Linked DNA regions of Homo sapiens: all the other regions are linked to region 3. The links are contacts of gene promoters, found by promoter capture Hi-C in human tissues and cell types (Jung and others, 2019). All regions are on one chromosome and are shown on one strand. The core of a region is centred on a gene start or on the middle of the fragment in contact, and the rest is flanking DNA. Distances in the headings are between cores, read along the strand shown. Region 1 overlaps FMN2 (formin 2). Region 2 overlaps FMN2 (formin 2). Region 3 holds the start of GREM2 (gremlin 2, DAN family BMP antagonist).

Evidence for each region. The method cuts DNA at HindIII sites, captures the fragments that hold promoters and counts their contacts. A contact is called where the count stands out against the background at its distance.
Region 1: a fragment that was not itself captured here is called in contact with the fragment with the promoter of GREM2 in region 3 in 1 of the 25 tissues and cell types used here (stomach).
Region 2: a contact is called between a fragment that was not itself captured here and the fragment with the promoter of GREM2 in region 3, in 1 of the 25 tissues and cell types used here (mesendoderm cells).

The regions. Positions count from the first base shown.
Region 1 is chr1:240,306,934-240,309,633 of GRCh38, reverse strand. All of the region lies in intron 8 of FMN2 (formin 2), which reads right to left. Among named protein-coding and RNA genes, the nearest start is that of FMN2, 220 kb to the right of the region's middle. The HindIII fragment of the contact is 4,341 bases long and covers 1-2,700 here.
Region 2 is chr1:240,348,477-240,351,176 of GRCh38, reverse strand. All of the region lies in intron 13 of FMN2 (formin 2), which reads right to left. Among named protein-coding and RNA genes, the nearest start is that of FMN2, 260 kb to the right of the region's middle. The HindIII fragment of the contact is 9,364 bases long and covers 1-2,700 here.
Region 3 is chr1:240,610,728-240,613,427 of GRCh38, reverse strand. GREM2 (gremlin 2, DAN family BMP antagonist) reads left to right here and starts at 1,273. Exons shown (of 2, transcript NM_022469.4): 1 at 1,273-1,544. The HindIII fragment of the contact is 18,584 bases long and covers 1-2,700 here.

The DNA.
Region 1 (2,700 bases), core at 174-2,673, 300 kb after region 3:
GCACAATTGGTCAGCGGTGTGGGTGTATAATGACATCTGGGGGTGCTCTGCCACACCCCAGCAGCATACCCGGAGTGCAGAGCCCTTTGGCAACCTTGCAGTCCTGACCTAGACTCAGTGACCAGTTTGCCTCCAATGCAGACACCACGCACTGTGCACCTGCACCAGCCAAGGCTTGCCTGTGCCCTGAGGTTTGTTTCCTGGGCCCTCCCTACATAGATACTGTACACTCTGGGCTTCACGTTCACTGTAGCATCCTAACTCCTGCATGCCTGCCCACTAGCTAGAGTTCACCTGCCCCCAGAAGTGTGTTTTCTTGCTTGCCCAGAGACGTGACCAGCTATGGCCCAGGCAAACCAGTGGGCTGCAAACACACCTTCTCCAATGAAATCTGCACCCCAGTCTTAGAGAGGGGACCCCCTTCCAAGCTTATCCGAACTTGGGTATGCTTACTCATCCCTAGGGTGCTGTTAAAGTTATCACTATATTCTTGTACTCTTCCATCATAGGTTAATCATTCATTATAATAAACTCTTCTGCTTATATTAGTCTGTGGTTTATGTCCCAATTGAACCCATACTGTTAGACTTTCTAACACTCATACCCTCACTCTCCACCTTCTGCCTTGAGACTACTAGACCCCTGTGTCTGCATATCAATTATGAAGGAACAGACCACTCAAACCTAACATAACCACAGAATTCTCATTGCCCCATTTTCTACCAAGCTGCTTCCACTTATCAGCTAATGGCAATCCCTTCCTATTGCCCAGGCCAAAAATTGTGGGATCACTCTCAATTTCTTGTTTTCTCTCACAGTCCATACCCAGCCCGCTGGCAAATTCTACTGGCATATTCTTCAAAATAGTTCCAGAATCTGACCACTTCTCAGCAGCTCCACTGTGTACACTGAGGTCCAAGCCACTATCATCTCTTAACTGAGGTCCAAGCCACTATCATCTCTTAACTCTGAAAGGTCTCTGACACTCCACCTTGCTTCTCACAGTCTATTCCTAGTTGTCAGAACTTCTTACAGGGGTGTCCAAGGGACAGAATACAGTCGTGGGTTCTTAGTTTCTGTTTCTGGTTGGGCCAGTAAAGCCCCGTCCTCGTCCCTCTTTTCTGCTTATCACTAGACACGAAACTAAACACCATGGCTTCAGGCTGCTAAAAGCCTGAAACAAAACAAAACAGAATGACAACAACAAAATAAAGCGAGTTGGACAAGCTTTGAAACATGAATCCTCTAGCCAAAACTGTGTGTTAACTTCCCATTTTACTCAGAGAAAAAGTTCAAGTCTTACAAAGTTCTACAAGTCCCTAGAGGGGCTAGTCCCCACCAATTTATCTCTAAGTAACTTCTACAATGTTCCCCTCCCTTGTGCCATTTCAGCTGTGTGGGCTTCCAGCTGTTCCCTGAATATATCAGACTTGCTCACACTTCAGGCATGATATGGTCTCTTAGATTTACACATGGCTTCTCTTCCTCATCTCCCGCAATTCCTAGTTCAAATGTCATCTTTCAAATAACAACCATATTTAAAATTGTACCCACCATCCTGGGCAACATCCTTTCCCTCACATTGACTTTTTTTCTCTTTAACACAGAATATTTTAAAAACTATAATGTACCTAATAGCCACAATAATTAATTAATTAATTAAATACCTAGGAATACCAAGAAGGTGAATGATCTCTATAAGGAGAACTACAAAACACTGCTGAAAGAAATCATAGACGACACAAACAAATGGAAAAGCATTCCATGCTCATGGGTTGGAAGAATATCATTAAAATATCCATACTGCCTGAAGCAATCTACTGATTCAATGCTATTCCTATCAAATTACAAACATCATTTTTCACAGAATTAGGAAAAACTATTCTAAAATTCAAATGAAACAAAAAAGAGCCCCAATAGCCAAGGCAATCCTAAGTAAAAAGAACAAAGCCAGAGGCATCATATTACTGGGCTTCTAACTATACTTCAAGGCTACAGTTACCAAAACAGCATGGTACAAAAATAGACATACAGATCAATGGATCAGAACAGAGATCCTTGAAATAAAGTTGCATACCTACAACCAACTCATCTTTGACAAAGTTAGCAGAAATAAACAATGGAGAAAGGACACCCTGTTCAATCAATGGTGTTGTGAAAACTGGCTAACCATATGCAGAAGAATGAAACCGGACCACTACCTCTTACCACACATAAAAATTAACTCAAGATGCATTAAAAACTTAAAAGTAAGACCTCAAACTATAAAAACTCTGGGAGAAAAGCTAGGAAATACTCTTTTAGACATTGGTCTAGGCAAACATTTATGATGAAACCCTAAAAACAAATGCAACAAAACCAAAAATAGAGAAATGGCACAATTAAACCAAAGAGAGCTTCTGCACAACAGAAGAAACTCTTGACAAGAATAAACAGATAACCAACAGAATGGGAGAAAATATTTGCAAACTATGCATCTGACAAAGGACTAATATCCAGAATCTATAAGGGATTTAAATGAATCAACAAGAAAAAAGGAAACAACCTCATTAAAAAGTGGCAAAGGACAATAAAAGACATTTCTCAAAAGATGATAACAAGCAGCTAAACTTAAGAAAAAGTACTCAGCATGACTAAACACCAGAGAGATACAAATCAAAACCACAATGAGATGCCATCTCACACCAGTGAGAATGGCTA
Region 2 (2,700 bases), core at 19-2,518, 260 kb after region 3:
TGCCATTACAAAGTAAAAAGATGTTTTTAAAAGTCCACCACTGATAGTTCAGGTATTTAATGAGTCACAGAACAAGTCTGCTTGTTTTGAGGATAGATTTCTTCTCTACTCTCATCTCCTATGAGACAGTCTCCATTTACTCACTTTGCTGTATTACCAGTACTTAGAATAATCTCCCACAGGCAATATGCACTCAACAGTTCTTTGTGGAATGAATAAATAATTTCATTGTATCTTCCTGTCATAGTGAGCTTCTTGTTTATCTGCAAAATGTCTTGCTTATGCACATTTCTCCAACCCTTCCCCATGCTATTCACCCACCAGACATACTCTCACCACTTAATGACCAGTTTTGAACTTCTACTTATCCATTCCCAGAGTCTGGTTCAACTGTTACCTCAAGACAAGAGGGTCAATCTCCCCTCAACTTTGCATCTCCCTTTTCTACAGAACACGTACAAATGATATAGGATAGAATCAAAGCACTGGTTAAACGGATCTGGATGCAAGTCCAGTTCTTCTATTAGCTCTGTAATCTTGGGCTAGCTACTTAAATTATCTCAGCCTCAACTGGAAGTTGAACTTAAAGTGCTAAGCTGGCTGTTAGAAAACTCTTTTAAAAATAAAAAAGCTGTTAATTATATTATTTCATTGAATGTATTTGTTTGTGTATCTTTGTTTCTGATTATAATTTGCATTCCTTGAAGCCAAGGGCTATCCTATTCACCTCTGTGTGTCAAGTGTCTGAAATGCAGAGGAAGTACTAAGACCCTGTATGAAAGAAAGTGCTTTCAATGATGCCCATAATCAAGGCCAAGGCTTTCCTTAATAGGGATATTAAGTCTCCAGTGGTCACTGAGGTAAACCACCAAAACTCACATCCAAATTTCCAAAGCTCAGTGTGATATAAAACCTGTACAGTTATTTCTTGGTAATTGTTGCTTTACTTATTCACTATATTAAGAAGGAAGAGCCTGTTGGATAAATGTAAAAATAGAATGTCACGTTCTAGAGTTTCTACATTCATAACTCTCATATATTTTGTACATACACAATGCCACATATAAATATGCTCAATGTGCTTACATATAAGGAATATATTTAGAAGACTGGACACCATTCTTCTCTTAACTGTAGCACATCAAGTTGCACAACATATCATCTTGGCTATTACTTATCATCCTCAAAATTGGTATGTGACTATGTAAATAAAAAAAAAAAATACCGAACACTACAATCTCACAAACTTGAAGGGTCATTTAGAAACATTATTAAAAACAGAACAAAGATAGAGTTCCTGGAAAACTTGCATTGCAGTCAAATCCAAATATTAAAAAACATTTGTTAGGAGACTGTTGGCATAACCGAGTAATTCCAATCATCTCAACTTTTGTTTAATTTAAAGACTTCTCTGAGTCAAAAAGATTTTATATCATGTTGAAGGGCTAGTATCAGAAAGCATGCATTAGGTTTCCAAATACAAAGAATAACCCAGCCAGAGGAAAGAAAGAAAAATGTCAGACATTCCCACCAGACAATGGGTTCCAATACATCCATGCCATCCACAGAGTGGCACGTTGTGGGGCAAACACCAGTTTATCACTGTCAGATTAAAGCAAGGACATGACATGCCACTCCCTGGAATGAACCATGATCATGAAGAGTCTGGCTATTTTTTTTTTGAGTAGGGAATTGGAATAATTTATACAAGTCTACAAGTTCAATCAATGTTAATCACAGCTTAGAGTTGCTGCTTTTCTGTGAGCTTCCAGAAAGTTTCATTGGCATCTACAAACCAGCCTCAGCAAGTAGGAAGGAAGTCACATAACAGATACAAAGGAAAAGAAATAACTGTAATCAGATCAGAAAGCTTTCTTCTAAAATCCAACTGTTTCCCACGTAAGCCTGGTTTGTACATTATTCTGGGTTCAGTTTTAGGAAACAGACACCATTGTAGCCACTTAAAGCAGATCAATGTAGGCAGCAAGATGCTTGCAAAGTAGGTGTAAGTGCACAGACATTGGGCTCTACACTTGGTCTCCAAAAATGACTCCCAGAACAAAAACTATAAAATCAGCCCACCAGGGGCATGCTATATATGGCACAGTCAGGACCTATGCTGTGTGGTAGGTACCACAGGCTCGACTTTTGGTTTTAGACTCAAACCTTACTTGTTAAGTCTGCACCATCAAATCAGTCATTGCCCTGTGCACCAACTCTGCCTCTCAATATCCACAGAGCTAGTGACCGGACACTGGGAAAATAATTTGAGAAAACCCAGTCACTCCATGTAGTGAGGCAAACAAACAAGCAAAACAAAACAAACAAAAAACATAGAAACAGTAAAAACATTGATGTCTGGCCTCACTACCTTTCACAAGTACTGTATATGTACTGACAAAAGCGAGAGTTAAATTCAGACAAGGGAAGATACAGACACAAGAAATATTTAGGGGGTAAAATTTGCAGAGCTTGGTAATTGAACGGAAGGTCAGTGCTCCTTCATGAAGATGTAAACTTCAGAATCAACTGGGGACTCTTTTCAGAATGTACCTGACAGGGCTCCAACCTAAGTCATTTTGAAAAGTGATCTCTTTCCATCTCACGCCAGTCAGAATGGCTTTTCTTAAAAAGTCAAAAAAAAAAAAAAAATAGGCTGGGCGCGGTGGCTCATGCCTGTAATCCCAGAACTTTGGGAGG
Region 3 (2,700 bases), core at 24-2,523:
TTGTTATTTCCTGTGAATTTGCAACCCAATGTGCTGTGAGTTGAGTTGGAACTAGAATATCAAATACCAAATAGCATACAAAAGGGATAACACTGCAAAAAAAAAATTCAAGTCAAAAATCAAAACAGAGCTCAGAGATTTCAGAAGCAATGGCTTCTTGTCAAGAATAACTGTCATTAAAATTTCCATAAGCACCAGTGAAATTGATTTTGGGGAAAAGTCTAAGGGAGGGTCTGTTTTATAAGACACACTGAAACTTTATTTTATTCTGAATTTCCCCAGCCAAGTTTGTAAGATCTCAGATTTTTCTTGGGCCCTTTCCCTGCCAAGGGGCCAAAGGTTTATCTCTATTGACACATACAGATAAAAAATTTTCATCCAGGAACCTCTATCAGCAGAGTCTGAATAGTCGTCTTTGGCTGGTGAATCACACTAAGGGAGTCTCAGTCCTGAGATGATCAGTGGTGAGAAGTTCAAAAAATAATGAAAAGAGCAAGCACTTAGGCGTCACAATACGCTTCTGGTATAACGCACCAAGCCGATGGAGCACAAGAATTGGTCTGGCGTCATTGTTTTATGTTCTCTGGATGTTGAAGAGTCTGATTTGCATTAGAAACCTCTGCATTCAATAAACAAAAATCAGGATAATAATGACCAAAGTACTATTTGGAACAGAAAACAAATTCAAGCAATGGGTGTTTTGCACTGAATTCATTCAAGATTTTATTAGTTAAGCTCTCACTTAGGTTATTAGGCTCAGCTTGCTTTTTATTTCACTGGCCTCAGTTACTGCAAACAAAAGGAGCCTGGTGTGTGTGTGTGTGTGTGTGTGTGTGTGTGTGTAAGCGCACGTGTATGAGAATGTCAGACATATCACACACAGGCTTTCTACATTCTTCACATTGGAAACCCATCAGCAAAAGGAAGAAGATCTGAAGGGAATGAGTGTTTTTTTTTTGTTTTTTGTTTTTTTCTGGTTTAGGGGATGGAGGGAGAATTTCTCTACATAAACAAGAAGGTTAGAATTGGAAGTCTGCTAAAAAAAATGTTAGAGCTGACCACAGGGTTGTAAATCCACTGACTGGAAGGAGGAAAAGAGAAACATTGCAAGCGACTGAAGTGTGTGGTGTGGCTGCAATGTTTGTGGGTTAGATGAGAAACAAGCGCTGAGTGAAACAGAGAAGGGGGGTGGCTGGTGTGATTTGTTTGGTGTTCAGAGCCAATAGAAATCCCAGACTCTGATAATATCCCCATGCAGCGCCGAGAGGATTCAGAGCTAAGTCTCCGGGCTCCTTTCACATCTGCAGGAGCAGCCAGCCTGGGACCGCGCGGCGCGGGGCGCGCTCTCGCCTCTCCTGCACCCTCAGCCGGCGCGCTTCTCTTATGGGCGTCTGCTGCAGTCTGGCTGCGGTCGAACTGAAAGCGGCGGCGGGAGACCAAACTTAGACCCCGCTGTGGACTAGAGAACTCAGAGAAGGCAGAGGGAGAGGGAGAGAGAGAGAGAGAAGGGACCCGAGGAGGAGGCTTCCATCACGTCATTGCAGGTACGCAGCTTGTCACGACTAACGTGACACAGACACGGTTTCTGATTTCTACCTTCACCAGGCACTTAGAATGAATTGACGTTGTTTGTTCCGTGGCTGGTCAGGACCGAAAGCCCTGAGTGGACGTCTCGCCGGTTTCACCCCGGGTAATTCAAGCTGTTGGCGTGTGTCTGGGGGCCACAAGGTTTATTCACCTATTGAATTATGCGTGGGTGTAACATAAGGACCTTCAAACTTGACCGTGATCGCTCTTTCTTTCTCTTTTAAATAACGTCAATACCAATATGTTGTCATCCCACCAATAAATACCTCTTGGTGACCGCCATTCTAATCATGACTATAGCGAGGCAAACACCATCCAATTGTTAGAAAGCGGGCTACGAACCTCTCCCACCTACCTACCAGGTTAATATCCTCCCTACAGGAATAGGAACCACAGCGGACTTCGGCAGAGTTTTGATTTTTTAAAGCATATGGCCAAGGTGCACCCGCCTCATGAGGGAAATATCACTATTATCACTACGCTGTGGTTGAAGGAGAAGAGAGAAGGGAGGTAGTTATTTTTTAACGTGATTGTCAGTGATCCTTCCTGTGTACCTGACTTATTTCTACATTGTCTTACGAGTTTAAAAATGCATTTGTATTCTGCACGCCAGGCACGTTCAGTTCCAGGATCTCACATATTACTACATTAAAAAGTCATGAATTGGAACTATCTAGTAGATGTGATAGTTGTAAGAAAATATTGATGTTTGATTTTATTTTATTTGATCCTAAAACTCATAAACTTCTATTTCTTTTTTTTTTTTATTTTGAGGTGTGGGTTTTGTTAAAAAAATCTATTTCCTGAGATTTTATCATGTTTGATTTGAAATTTTAAAGATAGTTATATAACTCCCCACCCCTTGATGACTTGTGATTAAATTAGCATTGCTTAATGAGTTCAGTCTTTCCTGGGAAAAGCCAGAGGGGACTGCAAGAAGTCAGTTAAAAAATTGGTCTTGCTTTGCAGTCTTCAAGGGCTGGCTGGTATTCATGTGGCTCTGAATCCCTATGAAAAGCGCTTTTTCTGCAGTGGAACAGATTGGGACTCCAGTACAGCCAGAGAATGGCTCTGCAGCAGGTGCAGGGGCAATCAAATACCTTACCTTTCGTC